2 separate regions of the Homo sapiens genome follow, and region 2 is linked to region 1. Evidence: promoter capture Hi-C in human tissues and cell types (Jung and others, 2019). All regions are on one chromosome and are shown on one strand. Each heading gives the region's core, a stretch centred on a gene start or on the middle of the fragment in contact. The rest is flanking DNA. Distances are from core to core; before and after follow the strand shown. Region 1 holds the start of BATF2 (basic leucine zipper ATF-like transcription factor 2). Region 2 overlaps MAJIN (membrane anchored junction protein).

The links. The method cuts DNA at HindIII sites, captures the fragments that hold promoters and counts their contacts. A contact is called where the count stands out against the background at its distance.
Region 2: a fragment that was not itself captured here is called in contact with the fragment with the promoter of BATF2 in region 1 in 1 of the 25 tissues and cell types used here (lymphoblastoid cells).

Annotation. Positions count from the first base shown.
Region 1 is chr11:64,994,179-65,000,008 of GRCh38, forward strand. BATF2 (basic leucine zipper ATF-like transcription factor 2) reads right to left here and starts at 2,793. Exons shown (of 3, transcript NM_138456.4): 1 at 2,698-2,793; 2 at 270-371. The coding sequence starts at 2,736. RefSeq lists an enhancer at 2,192-2,692 and a cis regulatory region at 3,937-5,075. The HindIII fragment of the contact is 29,477 bases long and covers 1-5,830 here.
Region 2 is chr11:64,944,982-64,951,479 of GRCh38, forward strand. It overlaps MAJIN (membrane anchored junction protein), which reads right to left. Exons shown (of 11, transcript NM_001037225.3): 5 at 5,374-5,449; 6 at 4,762-4,887; 7 at 2,807-2,838; 8 at 2,393-2,484. Among named protein-coding and RNA genes, the nearest start is that of GPHA2, 12 kb to the left of the region's middle. The HindIII fragment of the contact is 4,017 bases long and covers 1-3,986 here.

The sequences.
Region 1 (5,830 bases), core at 1,543-4,042:
CCCTAGACTGCGGACACCTTAGGACACGGCTGGGCTGAGGATGACCCTTTGTGTCCCTGGAGCCTGGTGTGTACCTGGCACATGGTTTGTACTCAACACCCAGAACTTTCCAAATGTCAGCCACAGGATCCTTTTCTCATCCCAAACTCAGGTGACCTAGAAAAATACAGGAGTTTGGGGGAGGTCTGCTCAAAGGTGGGATGGAGAAGAGGTGGCTGGGCCAGTAAGTGGAGCCAGAGACAAGGAAAGGGGTTAGGGGTTGTCCACACCTGGTGCAGGGCGTCTGCCTTGTCTGTGTGCTTCTGCCGGCTTCGCTGGGCGGCTGCCCGGTTCTTCTGCTTCTTCAGCTGCCTTTGTTGCTCCTTGGGGTCCTGTGGGGCATGAGGCAGAGGACTCAGGGGGCCCAGCCAGGCCTTGTGCCCTCCGTCCTGGCCCGCCATTTGTAAAGCCAAGTCTTTCCCCTTGAGTCAAGTTCCCAAGGGTCTTTTATCTCCCAGAAGCTCCCTTGGCACCCACACCCCCTATAGCAGGCACTGCACACCTTGTTGGAACGCCAGCCTCACCCCTGTGTCCTGCTCACCGCTCATGTGGAGGGTGGGAGGGCAAGCAGGGAAGATGGGAAGCCTGAGATTCAAACTCAGACAGAGCCAACTTCAAACCCCACATTCTTTTTTCCTTTTTTTTTGAGACAGAGTCTCACTCTGTTGCCCAGGCTGGAGTAGTGCAGCGGCTCTATCTTGGCTCACTGCAAACTCTGACTCCCGGGTTCAAGCAATTCTCCTGCCTCGGCCTCCCAAGTAGCTGGGACTACAGGCACCTGCCACCATTCCTGGCCAATTTTTGTATTTTTAGTAGAGATGGGGTTTCCTCATGTTGGCCAGGCTCATCTCAAACTGGTCTTGAACTCCTGACCTCAGGTGATTCACCAGCCTCGGCCTCCCAAAGTGCTGGGATTACAGGTGTGAGCCACCGTGCCCAGCCGAGCCCCATATTCTTGAACCCAATCGCCCCATCCCTGCAATGGAAGCACCACAGCAGAGGGTTAAAGCCCATGCGGCAGGCAGCCCAGAGCCGGCGTGCCATAAAGCTCAGCTTCCATTCTTCTCATTGCCATGATTTCCACACCAAGGTGTGAACTTTCCTAACTGTGAGCTCCATGAGGGCAGATGTGGTTCTCTGTGCTCATGCCCAGCTCAAGCCCAAAGCAGATATTCACTTACTCAACAAACATGTATAAGCACCTACTATGTTCCAGGCAGTAAGCTAGAGGGACATGATAGCAAACAAAATACACACAAATCCCTGCCCTGAAATTGCTCACATTGTAGTGGGGTGGTAGCGAAGGATGAATGAATGAAGGGTTTATTCCGGTGGAAGAGTGGACTCAAAGGTTGTGACCACCTTGTACCCTGGGATCAATGAAACTTAGATAAAATATTTTACCCAAATGTCCAGAGCTCTGCAAAGTCAGAGCAAGAGGGACTGTTGGAGAGCTCACAGCCCAGCCCCCGCCCCCAAGTCTCTCTGGGGTATGTGTTTTGAGGGTAAGGACCTCAGGCAAGGCCCTGGCCGCCCTGGCTGCAGATTCTGAATGCTCCTAGGCTCCTGCTCCATATGCTCCCTTGGGCCATGTCCACAGCGGGCTCACTGTAGACACTGGGGCACCAAGAAACTAAAGGCTGAGACAGGACCCACGGTGAGTGAAGGGGGCTCCTGTGAGATAAGCAGAGCCTCCAAGGGAAACCATGGCCCAGGGAATTTATTTATTATTTTACTTTATTTTATTTTATTTTATTTTATTGAGACAGAGTCTCTGTCGCCCAGGCTGGAGTGCAGTGGCGTGATCTTGGCTCACTGCGACCTCCGCCTCCCAGGTTCAAGTGATTCTCCTGCCTCAGCCTCCTGAGAAGCTGGGATTACAGGCATGTGCCTCCACCACGCCCAGCTAATTTTTCTATTTTTAATAGAGACGGGGTTTCACCATGTTGGCCAGGATGGTCTCGATCTCCTGACCTCAGGTGATCTGCCCGCCTCAGCCTCCCAAAGTGCTGGGATTACAGGTGTGAGCCACTGAGCCCGGCCTATTTTATTTTATTGAGACAGAGTCTCTCTCTGTCACCCAGGCTGGAGTGCAGTGACATGAGCTCAGCTTACTGCAACCTCCATCTCCCGGGTTCAAGCAACTTTCCTGCCTCAGCCTCTCGAGTAGCTGAGACTACAGACGTGCCCTGCCACACCTGGCTAATTTTTGTATTTCTAGTAGAGACGGGGTTTCGCCATGTTGGCCAGGCTGATCTTGAACTCCTAACCTCATGTTATCTGCCGGCCTCAGACTCCCAAGGGGCTGGGATTACAGGCATGAGCCGGCCTGGGTTATTTGGAGAAGGAAGGAAAGGCTGCTGTGAGTGTAGTGAGGGGGGACCAGGTACGTTAGGAGAGAGCAAGTACACAGAGGCCAAGTTCTAAACCGAAGGCTGGATCTGCAATGTGAGAGCTGGAAACAACTCATTCCAATCCAATCCCGACTTCGGGGGAGGAAAGTGAGACCCAGAGAGGGGCATGCAGAGCCCTCTGTCACACTGCTCAGAGTATAGAGCTGGGACTAGGAGCTCCCGACTGCAGCCCTCACTGCCTGGGCACTGAGGACGGGATCCCAGCTCCCCTTCTCATCCCCGATCCCCAATCCCCTGTACTCACTGTCTGGGTCAGCAGCCCATTGCCCCCACAGAGGTGCATGGCTTAGGCGGGGGAGCAGAGTGGTCCCTCAGCAGCTGTGACTTCCCAGTGCCCTCTGGAGGCCTAAGGAAGTGGCAGCTCTTTAAATCCCCAGTGGCCACTCCGCCCCCAGAGGGCCAAGTTTCAGTTTCTCCTAAAGCCACCAGCTGCTCAGAATCCCTGGCTCAGGCTTGCTCACGTGGCTAGAATTTCCTAACATGAACTGGCCTTCCGGTTGGGCCCCTTCTCTGGAAAGAGGATGGTGGAGGGTGGAGAGGAGGGAAGACCAAAGGCCAGGTATGAGGAGGGTGTTCTAGGGGAGGGAGGACAGGCGGCCAGGGACTGAGATGAGAGAAGAAGCCAGTGGGGACCGATGCTCATGTGGGGTAGAGAGAGCCCTTGAGCTCTGGAATTGGGGGAACTCTGGATCACAGCACACATTGGAGCTGTCCAACTTTCAGAAAGTGACTCTCCTTCTCTGAGCCCTAGTTTTCTCATCTGGAGGATGGTACAACTACCCACTCCCAGGCTCATTGCAGGAACTAAGCCAGATAATACAACCACCCCCAAACCTTCTGAGACCACTATGGAAGCATGTCTGCAAAATTAAGCAATGGCTGTTGGATAGAACAGATGGATACATTACTGTTTTCATACAACAGACCATGAAGCAGTGGAAAGATTGATGTCCAGTGGTTAGGAGCCCAGCTTCCAAGCTATGTGACTTGGGTTCGTAATTTCATCTGTGTTTCTGTTTCCAAATCTGTAAAGTGGGGATAAAAACAATTTTGTTAGGCCAGATGCAGTGGTTCATGCCTGTAATCCAAGTACTCTGGGAGGCCAAGGCAGGAGGATTACTTGAGCTCAGGAGTTTGAGACCAGCCTGGGCAACATAGCAAGACCTTATCTATATTAAAAATAAAAAAAATAACTGGGCATGGTGGCACACACCTGTATTCCCAGTTACTCAGGAGGCTGAGATGAGAGGATCACTTGAGCCCAGGAGTTCAAGGCTGCAGTGAGCTATAATCTTGCCACTGCACTCCAGCCTGGGCAATAGAGCAAGACCTTGTTTCAAAAAAATTAATTAATTAAAAATTAAAAAATAAAGACCTAGCAAACCCTGAAGCCCCGGGCATACCTGCATGCTTGTTGTATCTCTAAGAGGGACACTTGGATGGGGCATCTGTTTGGGGGCCAGAGGGGCCAGTAATTCCTGTCCAAGAACAGCATGCATGCAGTATGTAGAGTCCTATGGTCTGGTGACTAGAGCATCTTGGAGTTGTACCTGAGACCTGAGGGCTCATGGCTGATGATGTGGTATCACAAGAATGGCAAATACAGATATGATCTTCTGATAGGTGATGGTGGCTGGAATGTTGTTTTAAAGAGTTCATGGACACCTCTGAGCTTAGTAAAAAAGAGTACTGCAGTTGATTAGCAATGTCTGCCACACCATGATCGATTAGTGATGCCTGTTATGGGCAGAGGTGTGGAGAGTGCAGTCCCCTGCTATCCCTAGAACCAGGCATAAAACAAGTCTGGGTTTCAGAGACAAAAGACTTGACTCTCCATCCTGGCACTCCACTCACCCAGTTTATCACCTGGAGCCTCAGTGTCTTCAAAGATATGCTGGTGATCACAAAGAAATGATACCTATTTGACAGTTGTTTTGAAGATGGGAAAGAATGAGATGAGAAGAAAGCTCTTGGGATATTGTAAAGTACTATGTGGCAAGGATTCCCCCTCCTGAAATTTGTGGTGTCATATTCTGGATTCTAAGATTATTAATGCAGGCTCCTAATTTAAAATGCCTGGGTGGGTGAGATTGGGCATAAGAGCTGGGCCTTGCCCTCCTAGCTTCTGAGGGGCCTGGGAGCAGAGGCGGAAGTGGGATGCCCCACGCAGTGAGGCCATCCCTGTTTCTCTGAATTATTGTTTCCTGGAAACCAGGAAGGCTGGGGCGTCTTGCCTGAGGCAGGCACCTGAAGGGCTCATTAAGCCAGCCCATGAGCTCCCCTGGGAGGATCTGCAGGCACCTTGTGCATGATGTGACTACGAAGAAACACCCGTGTGTGCTTGTGTGTGTGTGTGTGTGTGTGGAGGGGCTAGGCCTGAGTGTCCCACTCCAGATCCCAGCCCCTGCCCCAGACCCCCAGTCTTTCTTCTCCAGACCCTGGCTTCTGGCAGAGGTGAGACAGCAGGTGTAGCTCTTCCCAGAACACCACAGCCCTGGGAGAAGACCAAAGAAGGCAGCGTTTATGGCTCCCTGAGGAGGCAGCTGGGAGAGGGAGTGGCAGGGAGGGAGGGAGGTAGGGTGGGTAATGTTTAACTAGGAATGGCTGTGGGAGACTTCTCCCAGGCTGGTGGGACCATCCAATCTGACCTCGCCTTAGACGGTGTCTCAGTCAGCTCAGGCTGCTATAATGCAATACCAGAAACTGAGTGGCTTAATGACAGCCTTTTATTTCTCGCAGTTCTGAGGGCTGAGAAATCCAAGAGCAAGGTGCTGGTAGGTTTGGCTCCTGGCAAGGCCTCTTCCTGGCTGGAAGATGGTGGCACTCTTGCCGTATTCTCACACGGTCTCTCTGCCTTCTTATAAAGACACTCATCCCATTGTAGGGTCCCACCCTCACAACCTTATCTAAGCCTAATTACCTCCTGAAGGCCCCACCTCCAAATACCATCTTACCAAGGGTTGGCACTTCAGTGTGTGAGTTTGGGGGGGGAACACAAACTTTCAGTTCATAAAAGAGGGTGAGGAAACTAATGCCCAGAGGGGCAAGGTCACTCCACGGGAGGGGCAGAGCTGCAGGGAGAACACAACCTCTCTCTTCTAGGCCTCAGTCCTGCTCCACACTCTGCTTGGAAAGGCCTGGTCCATTAGTCCAGAGCCAGCAGCCCCAGTGGGTGGAGGGTTGGAGGCCTCCCAAATACCACAGCTACCAATGAGCTCCTACATGGCAGGACTGGTTCTTTGAAGGATCCCCAGTGCTTCAAACACTGCCTTCACGTAATAGATGCTCAATTAATGAATTAATTAATTAAAGTCCAGCAGGCAGCTTGCCACCCAGGAACCCCAAAACTTTCCTGAGGAAAGAAACTTTTCACTCAT
Region 2 (6,498 bases), core at 728-3,227, 50 kb before region 1:
ATCAGGGGCCAGCCCTTCACTGCTCTAGAAGTTTTCTCTTACCAGTTATCAGTGCTGATACATGCCTAGCTCATTTGTTAAAACTAGATGTTCCGGCTGGGCTCGGTGGCTCACGCCTGTAATCCCAGCACTTTGGGAGGCCGAGGCGGGTGGATCACGAGGTCAGGAGATCGAGACCATCCTGGCTAACACGGTGAAACCCCGTCTCTACTAAAAAATACAAAAAATTAGCCAGGCGTGGTAGCACACGCCTGTAGTCCCAGCTACTCGGGAGGCTGAGGCAGGAGAATGGCGTGAACCCAGGAGGCAGAGCTTGCAGTGAGCCGAGATCGCACCACTGCACTCCAGCCTGGGCGACAGAGCGAGACTGTGTCTCAAAACAAACAAACAAACAAAAAAACAAAAACTAGATGTTCCTAGACTCAGACCCCAGTGTAGATGAAGGCAAAAAGTTTCCTAAAGGGAAAATTCTATACTGGATCCCACCTCAATTCTATACAGACATATTTTCTTATTTCAACTACAGAGTACAGGTAGCTTTTTAAGCTGAGAAGAGAGGATTTCTTTTTTTTAAGATGGAGTCTCACTCTGTTGCCCAGGCTGGAGTGCAGTGGCACGAACTCAGCTCACTGCAACCTCCGCCTCCTGGGTTCAAGTGATTCTCCTGCCTCAGCCTCCCGAGTAGCTGGGATTACAGGTGCCCACCACCACACTTGGCTAATTTTTTGTATTTTTAGTAGAGACTGGGTCTCACCAGGTTGGCCAGCCTGGTCTTGAACTCCTGACTTCAGGTGATCCGCCTGCCTCAGCCTCCCAAAATGCTGGGATTACAGGCATGAGCCACCGTACCAGGCAAAGAGAGGACTTTTTAACAAAAAAATTCATCGATGCGTGTATTATGCAGCCACTTTGGGATGCGTTGTGGCAAGGGCATAATAGTTGAATGTTATTCTGCAGACAGTGAAACCCAAGAATGAGTTCAGTCAATTCAATCTGCACGAAAAACCAAGATGTGCTGGTAACCGGAATCCTGACTTGTAACAGAACAGGAATAGCTAATAGCCTTGAAGGCTCCATTTTAGTACTAAGGCTCCATTTTAGTACTTACTCTCCTGGTTTCCACAGGGGGCTTCTTTTTGCTGGGGCCTTGGCTGGAAGTCCCTATCTTGGCCCTGAGGTGGGGGGAAAATATGCAGGAAATGTTACTGGCAGAGGCAATATCACTACATTCAAGCAAATGTGGCCCAAATGAATATTTCAGCAGGTTGGCTATTGTTATACTACTCCTGGCTGGCAGAATAAATTGGGTGGCCAAATTTTCTTTGGGTGCTGCTTTACTTCACAGCAGAATCCCAGTTTGAGACACTTAGGGATCTGGGGTTTGAGAAAGTGAAAATGTGATTGACAGCAGGTATCAGATTTTGAAATACTTGACTGTGCATCAAAACCCAGAGAAAGGGAAGATCTGAGACCTCATTTGCATGGAAAATTCAGTCGAATGGAACAAAGCAAAGCTTCATACCTCCAAGTACCCTCACATTCCACCTGGCTTGGAAAGGAGCTCCCTACCTCTTCACCTACATGTGCATCTGGAGAGCATGGGGTCAGCTTCCTAGTGGTCTACCTTATTTCTCCTGTATGTCTAGGGGTCCACAGAGTCCCAGGAAAAGGGTAGCTGTTCTCTGTGGGCCTAGGGTGGAAGCATCTTGGGCTAGGGAACAAACCACACCTTGGATTATTCCAGCAGCATTCTTATTAGCTTTCTAGGGTGCTAATAAGAATGACTGAATTGTCTTACTGACTCATTTTGTTCCTGATAGAGAATTGAAAGAAGAACATAAGTAGCCTCCACAATAAAAATATGTTAGGGATGTACTCAACATTCCCCCTAATATCACAGCACCCCACCCAATGATTGATACATACCCTCTTGCAAACATTTATATTTTAGTCTGGACTGCCTCTTAAGGTTCCAAAAGCTAACTGCTCACTGGGTAAAATAGAATTATATTTTATTTGTTCTTACTCCTTCAAGAGTTTCCCTATGTTTTTGTAAATATTCTGAGACTTCATAAGTCCTGTGCCTTCTGGTGATATTAACATAGTAAGTATTATTGAATGTGCTGAATTCAATTGTTTAGATCGGACTGTATTTCTTCTTAGCCTTCATCTTGAAAAGAAAAATCGTACTTTGCTGAAAAAGGGACTGTGTTCAAATTATATTGTAAATATTAACTTGCTCCCTTTCCTTAGTCCACCCACTGTAATAGGCAGATACTGATGAAGTCCTGCAAAAGAAAGTGACTCGCCCAAGGACAGGATCAACCAACAGTAATAGCTGGCAAAGCCTAACTAGGACGCAGGAGCGAGCCTCTCTCCCCACACCACTGACCTGTCCAGCCCTGGCCTGCTGGGGGAGCTGGGCTCGTCCATGTGTTTTCGTTTCCTCATCACAGCTCCTACTGCTTTCTTCTCAACTGGGACCTTCAGGAGGAAGCAGATGCCTGTGACTCCTCCTTTCCAGAGTTGCTCACAGTTCATGAAGGCACAGTGAAGAAAACTCCCCATCCTTAAACTGCCAAAGGCAACTTTTAACACCAGCTTTGCAAGTAAGAATAGACATTCTGTTAGAGACATGGTCTCAGAAATCTAGCCAAGGGGGAAAATATGGTCTTATGTTTACAATTCTGACTGGACCTGGGCAGCAACTGAGGGCAAAGTAAGGGGAAGAGGCAAGAGCAGGACTTTTTGGAAAAAAGAAGGTGATAAAGGCAATTTTCATTTTGTACAGAAAAGGCAAACTTACCAACCCAAGAGGACTGTCACTTATTGGTTTCCCTACAATAGGAAATTTGAGTGTCATAATAGATTTAAGACTTTTTTTTTTTTTTTTTTGGAGATTAAGTCTCTCTCTGTCACCCAGACTGGAGTGCAGTGGTGCGATCTCGGCTCACTGCAACCTCCGCCTCTTGAGTTCAAGCGATTCTCCTCCCTCAGCCTCCCGAGTAGCTGGGACTACAGGCACATGCCACCACACCTGGCTAATTTTTGTATTTTTAGTAGAGAGAGGGGTTTCACCACGTTGGCCAGGTTGGTCTCAAACTCCTGACCTCAGGTGATCCACCTGCCTTGGCCTCCCAAAGTGAGCCACCAGGCCTAGCCACGATGCTGTTTTACCTGGACTTCTGGCTACTATTTATTTCTTGGAACTGACCCCAGACAAAGACTCCTCATGTGCCCTTCTCCCTTCTACCTGGTACTATTTTCCCTAAAAATAGTGTCTTCAAACTCTCTTCCTCCCCTGTTTCAGAATGATTGTAATCTACAAGCTAGAAAGGGTTTGAAAAGGGAGGGGACGATCCTTACTAAAAAAGAAAAAAGGTAGAACTTCAGCTACCTGTGACAAATGAAAAGGGGAGATATTTTGAGGCAAGGCCTTTGCACCCCTTTTCTTTTCTTTCTTTTTTGAGACAGAGCTAGCTCTGTTGCCCAGGCAGAAGTGCAGTGGTGTGATCTTGGCTCACCAGAACCTCTGCCTCCCAGGTTCAAGCAATTCTCCTCCCTCAGCCTCCAGAGTAGCTGGGACTACAGGCATGCACCACCACCATGTCGGGCTACATCATATATATATATATATATATATATATATATATATATATTTTTTTTTTTTTTTTTTTTTTTTTTTTTTTTTTTCAGATGGCATCTTGCTCTGCCGCCCAGGCTGGAGTGCAGGGGCGTGATCTCAGCTCACTGCAATCTCTGCCTCCCGGGTTCAAGCGATTCTTCTGTTTCAGCTTCCTGAGTAGCTGGGATTAGAGGCGCACACCACCACGCCTGGCTAAATTTATTTTTAGTAGAAATGGGGTTTCACCACGTTGGTCAGGCTGGTCTTGAACTCCTGGCCTCAAGTGATCCTCTTGCCTCGGCCTCCCAAAGTACTGGGATTACAGGCATAAGCCACCATGCCCAGCCTGCACCCCTTTTCAAATCAAAAGGGTAGGTGTTTACTTGTCCCTCAATCAACAAAAACACCCATGGCCTTCAGAGAATAAAAATTTGGGCTAGGCACAGTGGCTCATGCCTGTAATCCCAGTGTTTTGGGAGGCCGAGGTGGGAGGATCGCTTGAGCCCAGGAGTTTGAGACCCAACGGTGCAATATAGTCAGACCCCTGTCTCTACTAAAAAAAAAAAAAAAAAAATTAGCCGGGGATGGTCGCACACACCTATAGTCCTAGCTACTTGGGAAGCTGAGGCAGGAGGATCACTTGAGCCCAGGAGTTAGAGGTTACAGTGAACTATGATCACACCACTGTACTCCAGCCTGGGTGACAGAGTGAGACCCTGTCTAAATAAAAATAAAATTGGGAGATACCTTTAAGATAGCTCTAAAGTGAAAATCATAGAATTCTCTCTAATGGAAGGGTTTATATAATAGTTATCTTTCATTCAGTGATTAAGTCAGGCTTTGTACTTTTCATCTACTACTATTTAATCCTTTTAACAACTCAATGATATAGGTAGTAATATTATTCTTCACCATTTCACAAGGGAGGCATAGAAAGATTAATTTATCTAACTTCACACAGCCATTAAGTGGCAGGACCACCAGTATTTGAACCGGTCAGTCTGGCCTGGAGCACATGATCCTGACCTGTGCACTGTATGGCTGGAGCCTAATCTGGTAGCCCCTTTCGCGATACCTAGCTGGCACAGCTAAACCATTTTCTTCTCTGCCATCCACATTCACATCATTCCACTTACCAGGTGACAGGTTTTCATGGAACCATTTCATCTCCACATATAGAGTAAAAACAAATGGGTAGGGGATCAAGATAATTTCCCCATGTTTGAATTTCAGGTGGGAAACTCTCTCCCATTTGCTTTTATCTGGAAAATGGTGCTAAGGAGTAAGGAAAGATGCCAGTATGCATTCCTAAGTACTATTTTAGGGATGAGACTCTCTCTCCTTCCCCTGACCTACCCTCCAAACTGCCTATGGTTTTGCTACGTCCATTTGAGTCTAAAATGTGAGCTGTAGCTCATTTCCAGCCAGAAAAGAAAGGATAGGCTGGGCGCAGTGGCTCATGGCTGTAATCCCAGCACTTTGGGAGGCCGAGGCGGGTGGATCACCTGAGGTCAGGAGTTCAAGACCAGCCTGGCCAACATGGTGAAATAGCGCCTCTACTAAAAATACCAAAATTAGCCGGGTGTGGTGGCATGTGCCTGTAATCCCAGCTACTGGAGAGGCTGAGGCAAGAGAATCGCTTGAACCTGGGAGGCTGAGGTTGCAGTGAGCCAAGATCATGCCATTGCACTCCAGCCTGGGTGACAGAGCAAGACTCCATCTCAAAAAAAAAAAAAAAAAAAGGATACAGGGAAATACAATGAAGTGTTCTGTAGCAAAGGGCTGAAGATTGTCCAAGTTTCCCAAGACCACGCGGACAGAATCCTGAAAAACATATTTGAAATGACTTTAACACTGTTGAGTCTCAGCCAGTCTTTGTTTATATTTGTCACTGCTACTCACATACCCTATACACTATCAAAACTGAACTATTTGCTGTTCCTTTAACACGTGTTCTGATTCTCCATTTCTTTTTCTTTCTTTCTTTCTTTTTTTGAGAGAGTCGTGCTTTGTGGCCCAGGCTGAAGGGCAGTTGCATGATCTCTGCTCACTGCAATCTCTGCCTCCTGGGCTCAAGTGATCTTCCCACCTCAGCCTCCCCAGTAACTGGGACTACAGGCGTGCACCACCACACCCATCTAATTTTTTTATTTTTTGTAGAGATGTGGTTTCACCATGTTGCCCAGGATGGTCTTGAACTCCTGGGCTCAAGTGCTCTGCCCTCCTCGGTCTCCCAAAGTGCTGGGATTACAGGCATGAGCCACTGCACCCAGCCCGCTTCTCCATTTCTATGCTTTTGCATAGAAAGGGAATTTCTCTTCCTGAAATGCCCTTTCCACCCATCAGCACTTGTCCAAATCCGACCTATCCTTTCAGGCATAGTTCAAAAGGCATCTCCTCCAGAAATCTTTCCCTGATTTACCAAGTTATAATTGTTAGTATCAAACTTCACAGTAGTTAGCCTGGAGTCTTTACTACATTCCACATACAAATGTTTTATATTCCTTACTGGGAGATCTACTTGAAGTAGAATATACACCTGACTTATCTTAGTATCCCTTCTATGGTGTCTACCATCATGAATAATGCATAACAAGTCCTCACTAAATGTACATTGAATGAATGAATAATACTGGTATTAACTGATATACAGTATTTTGCTTTTGTTTAAGTCAAACCTTTTTTTCACTCACTTTAAATTTTAATCGATTAGTCCCTAATTAAGCTATATGCTTATTAGTCTATACTAATTAATTTGGCATCATAAAGACTACTAAATTTCTGTGGGGAAAAAAGTCTCAATTTCAATCCCAGCCTTGTCATTTCACCCTAAGCTTCAGTGTTCTCATGTTTGTGTTCAAAGAAGATAGAAA